3 separate regions of the Homo sapiens genome follow, and all the other regions are linked to region 3. The links are contacts of gene promoters, found by promoter capture Hi-C in blood cells and fetal thymus (Javierre and others, 2016). All regions are on one chromosome and are shown on one strand. The core of a region is centred on a gene start or on the middle of the fragment in contact, and the rest is flanking DNA. Distances in the headings are between cores, read along the strand shown.

The links. Contacts are between HindIII fragments. The CHiCAGO score rates a contact against its expected background, and 5 or more counts as called.
Region 1: a fragment that was not itself captured here is called in contact with the fragment with the promoter of SPMIP3 in region 3 in 2 of 17 cell types (fetal thymus and neutrophils); the score reaches 9.4 in fetal thymus.
Region 2: a fragment that was not itself captured here is called in contact with the fragment with the promoter of SPMIP3 in region 3 in 4 of 17 cell types (total B cells, neutrophils, naive CD8 T cells and 1 more); the score reaches 7.5 in total B cells.

Annotation. Positions count from the first base shown.
Region 1 is chr1:243,329,879-243,332,578 of GRCh38, forward strand. SDCCAG8 (SHH signaling and ciliogenesis regulator SDCCAG8) reads left to right here. Exons shown (of 18, transcript NM_006642.5): 10 at 662-814. Among named protein-coding and RNA genes, the nearest start is that of MIR4677, 15 kb to the right of the region's middle. The HindIII fragment of the contact is 1,395 bases long and covers 588-1,982 here.
Region 2 is chr1:243,347,118-243,349,817 of GRCh38, forward strand. All of the region lies in intron 12 of SDCCAG8 (SHH signaling and ciliogenesis regulator SDCCAG8), which reads left to right. Among named protein-coding and RNA genes, the nearest start is that of MIR4677, 2.3 kb to the left of the region's middle. The HindIII fragment of the contact is 6,251 bases long and covers 1-2,700 here.
Region 3 is chr1:244,351,185-244,353,884 of GRCh38, forward strand. It overlaps SPMIP3 (sperm microtubule inner protein 3), which reads left to right and starts at 1,451. Exons shown (of 5, transcript NM_001012970.3): 1 at 1,451-1,550. The HindIII fragment of the contact is 3,357 bases long and covers 1-2,700 here.

The sequences.
Region 1 (2,700 bases), core at 35-2,534, 1.0 Mb before region 3:
TCATGAACTTTACCAGAAGTGGAAGATCCTTATAAAACTAAGTAGTGAATACTGTCTTGAGTCTTTCCATTTAACTTACGATTATTACATAATTTTTACTTCAGTTGTATGTTTAAGGGGAGTGAACTAAATTTTCTCTTAGTTATATTTAAGGAAACTTGATTATTATATAGTATTAAACAAAAGATGCCTGTGTGTAATGATATATTCAACATTTCATTTTAGTATTTTGATCTATCATTTGAAGTATTCCAATAATTTTTATCCATGAGCAAATAAGAAATCAGTTAAATTGGATACTTACGTATTTCGTGTAGTATAAACATGATATATAATTGAAAATATTAGAACACTTGGTGTTTCTGGTTCCCTTTTTTAAAATTCTGACTCATCTGTGGCCGTCATCAAGGTTCATTACCTGAATTTTGTCATTGATTAATTAATATGGCTTTAATCATGAAAATTGAAATATGTCAATAAATGTAACATTTGGATACTCTTTTAGGTCAATAAGTGGTATTGATAAACAATAAAAAATTATTCTAATGGGCTTTATAGTGAGTTTTTGCTATTTTAAATATACTTAAAGCTTAATTATGTCATTTTACCTATATTTTTTCCAAATTCTAACCTCCTCTTTCAATCTGTTCTATCCTGGCAGGCTTTAATCCAGTGTGACCAGTTGAGGAAGGAGCTGGAGAGGCAGGCGGAGCGACTTGAAAAAGAACTTGCATCTCAGCAAGAGAAAAGGGCCATTGAGAAAGACATGATGAAAAAGGAAATAACGAAAGAAAGGGAGTACATGGGATCAAAGGTACTTAAGGACTCTGCTGTTATCCACATTGCAGAAGAAAGGTTTTTTATGATGCCATTGATGATTCCATAGGCTGGAGTTCTTGAATGAACTTTAAATTTTAAAATCGTTATTATATAAGTAGTTAAATTTCGTATAATTTAGAATTCATAAAAATGTTTTATCTTTTCATATATTTCTCAATAGTTTATGCTGATCTTTTCAAATAAAATAATCAGTTAGATTCCATACAATGAAATTACAAAATTTACTTTAAATCCTGCCATTCTGTTGGATTCCCTCTCTCGTGTTTCCCAGAGTCGTGCTATGAAGATACCCAGATTTTATTTCAACCTTGGCTAAATCAAGGAGAGATGACTTCCCCTGCATTATCTCCTACCCCTAAATTAAATATGCAGAAGATGAAACACTTGTAAGGAACTGAGTAACCAAGAAAAAGTGATTATGCACTCTGTATGAAATCAGTTCTGACAAATTACATGATGAATAATGACGGTAACCAGATGAAGGGAGAGATTTAAGGCAAAAGGAACAGATAACATGAAACAAGCAGTGTTTGAAAAGGAGTTCACAAACTAGAATACAGAGTTGAGTGGGACCTAGCTTTAAAATTGCTAACTAGACTCGAATTGAGCAAGTTGTGGTCCATCAAGTAACCAAAACAACTGTGTTACATGTTTGTTTTTAAAAGTGGACTCACAGCTTGTACTCTAAATGCTATGTTGTTATCAGATTCAATGTGTGATAATTAACTTATTCAGTAAGTATATACTGAGTATGTGCTGTGTGCAAAGCAATGTGGAGGCCTAAAGATATGTAAAGAGAAAAATCACAACTTCTGCCCTATGAGTTTTAAGTCTTAATAAGAGTAAACTCAGGCATTTCCTGTAAATGTCCTTGTCTTCTTATCCATTTTTAAAAATTGTGTCTGTCAAAACCCTACTACCTACCTTCTCTGCCCTGGATTGGTGATCTCTGCTGGTAAAAATCACACAGCCTTGCAGATGACATGGCTGTAGACTCCAGGTCTTCGGTGTCCACGGTCCTTTCAGTGCTTTCTAGCAGTCCTCTTTTGCCTTCCTCTCTCTTATTCATTCCACACTCAACAGATATTAACCAGAGGGGCTGGGAATGTTGTAGTCACAGGAACGATGCAGTTTCCTCATGAAGCTTACAAACTCGTAGGAGAAGTAGATGTTACACAAATGTTTTCATAAGTGAGTTTTCGATCATCATTGTGATAAAGCCATAAGGTTCGGTTTAGGATATCGTGGGAATGTGTAACAGGAATCTGACCTTGTCTAGGCAGTCACGAAAGACTTTCCTGAGTAAGAGATGTTGAAAATGAGACCTGAAAGCATTGATGAATGGACAGGTGAAGAGGGGAAGAGGGTTTCAGGCCCAGGAATATAACACACCCAAGACTCTGGACCTGGAAAGCATCGCACTTTCTAGGAATTTGGAGAAGGCCCTGATGGGTGGAGCATAGAGAGAGAGGAGCAGAGTAGTGGGAATGAGTTTGGAGAATTATGTTGGGATGGAATCATGAATGGCTTTAAAATCCATATGAAGGATTTTCAATTTTGTCCAAAAAGGGATGGAAAGCCATTGAATGGCTTTGAATTTGTCAGTGTCACGATGCCATTTATATTTGAGAAAAATCATTTTGTCAGTGGATTGGAAGGAGAAGCAGAATAGATGCCTGGAGATCAGCTGGAGGTCATTATCGTAGTCCAGGTCTGGAGGTGACTCACAGTCCAGGTCTGGAGGTGATTATCATAATCCCCCTCTGGAGGTGATTATCATAATCCAGCTCTGGAGGTGATTTTCGCAGTCCAGGTCTGGAGGTGATTATCACGGTCCCGGTCTGGAGGTGATTATTGCTG
Region 2 (2,700 bases), core at 55-2,554, 1.0 Mb before region 3:
TCACCTTCATCTTCTTTGTCATGTTTTTTCTGCTCCACCTTCTCATCTTCATCTTCTTCTGTCTTCTTCCTCTACCTCTTTTTCTTCTTTTGCAGAAGTATTTTAAATGGATCTCAGACCTTATGTTATTTTACTCATAAATACCCATGTGGATCTATGAAGGATATTTTTACATACTATGTCATTATCATACCTAACAATGTTAACAATACTTCTTTAATATCAAATAACACCCAGCCTATATTCACATTTCTTTGTCTCAAAAATGTTGATTTTACAGTTGGTTTATTCAAATTAGGAGAACAAGTATGTTTTTGTATGTCCAATTTTCTGGTGTTACCCTTTTTAATAGGAAATAAACAGAACTCTTAGTAAAATTTCATCTTTCTTTGTTGTTGTCTGTTAAATTTTGTACATAATGTTTTGATTATGCTTTATTTTTATAAAATGCCTCATTGTCATTCTAAAGAGGTATAAATTAATCCTACAGCAAAGTATGTGAAGGAAATGGCTACCACGCAGCATTCCTGATAATCATATCCCAAAAGGAGCTTCCTCGCATCCGAAACCCCAAATTCAGCATTAATTTCACAGCCTTGTATTTAAGATTTGGACATGTTGCAGGAGGCCCTAACATGACAAGGATGAGCTGACCTGAAATGAGTGATGCAGAAATAGAGTTTTTTTGTCAACTTCCCTTTTGGTAAATTAATCTGAGAAGACGATTCTTTATAGCCGCTAACCTTTGATTAGGGCCCAGTGCAAAGTGAAAATACAGGACCCTTTTGTTCAGAAAGCAGGAAAGAAGTGATATTAAAAAGAACTAAAATATAAAACATTTTCCTTTCTTCTTCAGTCTCTCTCTCCTTGCCCCTCCTCCCTCACCAACCCAGGCTGGACATGCATTTTTTTTTTTTTTCTTTTTTTTTTTTTTTTAGGACGGAGTCTCCCTCTGTCGCCCAGGCTGGAGTGCAGTGGCGCGATCTCGGCTCACTGCAAGCTCCGCCTCCCGGGTTCATGCCATTCTCCCGCCTCAGCCTCCCGAGTAGCTGGGACCACAGGCGCCCACGACCACGCCCGGCTAATTTTTTTTTTTTTTTTTTTTTGTATTTTTAGTAGAGACGGGGTTTCGCCGTGTTAGCCAGGATGGTCTCGATCTCCTGACCTCTTGATCCGCCGGCCTCGGCCTCCCAAAGTGCTGGGATTACAGGCATGAGCCACCGCGCCCGGCCTGGGGCGGGAATTCTTACCTCCCTGTCCAGCTCTAAGATGGCAGGGATGGGCACACTTGACTCAATCCTCTCTAAACACACATTCAGGATTCTGCCAGGGGCAAAAGACACAGGAGAACACACACCTCCCCCAGTGACATACGCACCTCCCCCAGTGCCCTGGTCCCACCCTAGGTGGAGGGACCCACCCCAGCAGCAGGGCAGGGCGGGATAGAGGAAGCTGGAGAGGAGTATATTTCTGAGAACTGCGTAGGGCTGCAGTGAGGCAGTGGAAAGATGAGACCACATACAGGAGTTCAGTCTCCATTGTTCCATCAGAGTACACCTACAAAACACAATTCTAGCCGGGCGTGGTGGCTCACGCCTGTAATCCCAGCGCTTTGGGAGGCCGAGGTGGCGGATCACCTGAGGTCGGGAGTTTGAGACCAGCCTGACCAATATGGAGAAACCCCGTCTCTACTAAAAATACAAAAAAAAAAAAAAAAAATTAGCCGGACATGATGGCACATGCCTGTAATCCCAGCTACTCAGGAGGGTGAGGCAGGAGAATTGCTTGAACCCAGGAGGCGGACGTTGTGGTGAGCCGAGATCACGCCACTGCACTCCAGCCTGGGCAACAAGAGCGAAACCCTGTCTTGGATAAAAACAAAACAAACAAAACAAAAAAAAAAAAACACAATTCTAAGATACAATTGCTAATAATTTCAAGACATTGACCACAGAGTATTAAACTGCAAGTGTAAGGACCCTTCTGAACAGCACATGTGTGACTGCACTGATCACGTGCCCAAGAAACTGCCATAACCAGGGGGATGGGCAAATGGAGATTTTGCATACTAATATATGTGTATATATCCCCACTCACATATACAGACACATATGCATATTCAATATGCTAATGTGCCCAGTATTCATAAAAAAGTGTTAGCCAACTACAGCTCATAGGTCAAGTCTGGCCTGCTGTCTATGTTACAAATAAAGTTTTATTAGAACTCAGCCATACCTACTCATATATGTATCACCTATTGCTACTTCCTGCAACAACAGCAGAGTTGAGGAGTTGTGGTAGAGACCATATAGCCCACAAAGCCTAAAATATTTACTGTCTGACCCTTTACAGAAAAAGTTGCCAATCCCTACCTTGAGTATAGAAATACAACTGTATTTTTTAAGTTTCCTCTGACTTACTAGGATGCTGAGCTTTGAGTTTGAAGACCCATGTATCTTAAATAATAACAATGGTTTTAGAGTATTTTGCAGTATAACAAATGTGCCACATCTTTAGTCTCTTAAAAATCTAATGGCATTACTCAGCGAGTGTATCACTGATAATCATGGCATTTTCTTATTAGTGGCACATGACTTACTAGTGGCTTGGATGGGAGTGTAAATACCGTATGATTTTATATTTACAATTTTGTTTTTAGGTTGGTTCCAATTTTATTTTTCAGAGATAAGAAGGCTGATA
Region 3 (2,700 bases), core at 201-2,700:
AGAACATGGGGATTTTTTGTTCATTTTTTTTCCTCAGTGAAGAATACTGGTTATTACTCTTAAAACGCCTTTGACGTCAAATAGCTGGATTCAAATCATAGATTCATTACGGCCTCGTTGTGTGACTGTTAGGCAAGTTCCGTAGCTTCTTCTCTTAGCCTTCATTTCAAATAGAAATACTTCATTTTCAAAAGAGAATCTCCTTCCATGGTGGTGGTGGAGATTCTAGATGGTGTGTGTCTAATAGCTAAAAAAACGTGTGGTGCTCACTCAACAAATCAAACCAATTTATCCTTTCTCTTAGTGTGGTTCCAGTTTGTTGCTTCTGTCCTCATATATTTATTTAAGTTTTCCCTAGCTTATCTGCTTTCAACAAAATGCTGTCACCAAGACTCTGTCATTACATTATTTTATGCCTGTTCCATGTAGGTTAAGCTCCCAGCAGGAACCCAGCCTGGCCCCTGGTCTCTCCTGAGTGCCTTCTGGAATCTTATGGAAATATTTTACATTCTAACCTGCAAACTGTATATAAGTGAGAAGTGTCCCTGTTTCCAGGACAACCTACTGTAGATAATGCCAGTGTTGGCTGGGTGTGGTGGCTCACGCCTGTAATCCCAGCACTTTGGGAGGCCGAGGCGGGAGGATCATGAGGTCAGGAGATCGAGACCATCCTGGCCGTGGTGAAACCCCGTCTCTACTAATATACAGAAACTTAGCCGGGCGTGGTGGCACGCGCCTGTAGTCCCAGCTACTCAGGAGGCTGAGGCAGGGGAATCGCTTGAATCCGGGAGGCAGAGCTTGCAGTGAGCCGAGATTGTGGCACTGTACTCCAGCCTGGGCAACAGAGACTCCATCACAAAAAAAAAAAAAGAAAAAAAAATGCCAGTGTTTCGTTTTGGTTTGGTTTGGTTTTGACAGAGGTTGGTCAGAATAAATATTTTTGCCACTCTCTTCTTCTCAGGTTATGGCTTGCTTCTATATAGTGGTGCTGTTGTGATACTCCATGGATTGGTTTGCAGCATATTTTTAAATAATTAAAATTATCCTTTGATACCTGCAAAGGAGCAGGTTGGAGCCTGACCTAACCTTGGACAAGGCGGGGCTGGCCTCATCTGCCCCTCGTGCCAAACCATCCTTCCTCAATTCCAGCTTGCAAAGGGCAGGACTCCTCAGTGTGGCACCACCCAGATTTTCACCTTACGTTGTCCTTGGGACAATCTTTACAGGAAAGCAAGCTCTAGTGATTAGATAGCCTGGTTATTTGCCTACATGATTTTCCTTTTCACAGTAATTTTTGCCCCTTCTTTCATGTGCAGCTGGTCTCTCCCTAGAGACCAAAGGAGCACTCTTTTTCTAAGCCCAGGACCTGAAAGGCATTGCCTGGCAAAACCTTGCAAGCCAGTGTGCGTCACAATACCCTTTGAATGATGTAAAGGAATCAGGCCCTGCCACTCTGCAGTTGATCCAGCAGCAGGAGGCAGCTGTACCCATCACTGTCCTCAGAGTACTTTTAAGAACAAGGAGGTCTCTGCCCACGGCAGCCCAAGCAGGTAATAGCGGTTGGTTGTTACTGCCTGTACCTCTCTCTCGCCTCATTTAGAGGTTGCATTACTAAATGGTTGACTGCATTTCAAATATTTTAGAGACAGGAACTCACAACATAAAGAAACTTCATGGCAAGCCTTTTGGTAAAGCAAAAATGTCTTTTGGAAAGTGAATACTCATCTCTCTCAACTTTGAATTCTTGTCATAGTTTTAACTCAACGTGTCTTTTTTTTCTTAGAAACGGGTACACCTATATTAAATAAGATAATTGGTTCTCTGTGATACAAGAAGACCTAGGTTTTAAAAACTGTGAACTAGATTAACAGGTTACTGAGTTAGCTGATCGATTGATTTATTCACTCATTCTGAAGTATGCATCAAGCACTCCTTGGACAGCGAACACTTTGCAAGAGAATGAGTTAGGAGAAGGACAAAGAGAGTGAAGATCGTGGCCACCAAACGAAGTGGTCCCCAACATCTAGGAGCTCACATTTTACCTGAAGAGACAAAGTGCTGTATAAAACAGATGTCTTGGCCAAGCGTGGCGGCTCACACCTATAATCCCAACACTCTGGGAGGCCGAGGTGGGAGAATCACTTGAGCCCAGGAGTTTGAGACCAGCCCGGGCAACGTAGCAAGGTCCTGTCTCTGTTTAAGAAAACAAACAACAACAACAACAACAAAAAACCCAGATGTCTCGTTGTTTGAAGAATTTCTAGAACCTTATCCAAAGCCTGGTGGAGAGTTGTCACTAATTTTTCTTAAATAATAAAATGAATAAATCAATTCAGAAACCAATAAACCAAAAAGGAAAGGACTCAGAACCAAAATGCGTAGGAGAATCTCCCAGGGGCTCTGGGAATTCACAGGAGGGAAATGGGCCATTTGAAACTCAGAAGAGAGGCCTCCTAGGGAACGTATGTAGGACCTGAACAAAGCCCTGAAGAATGGGCTTAATTTAGGCTAGAGAAGGAAAAAAGAAAGAGTATTCAGGCAGCAGAATTCATTACAGAACTGGTGAGAGTCAGGGGAGAAGGGAACCAACCTTCCTGAACTGGGAAAACTGCCTGCCTGAGAAAACAGAAGCAACAGGGGACTATCAAAGTAACTCATTGCTGCGAGCCCTCTTCTAAACAGCCTCTCATCGCACAGGCT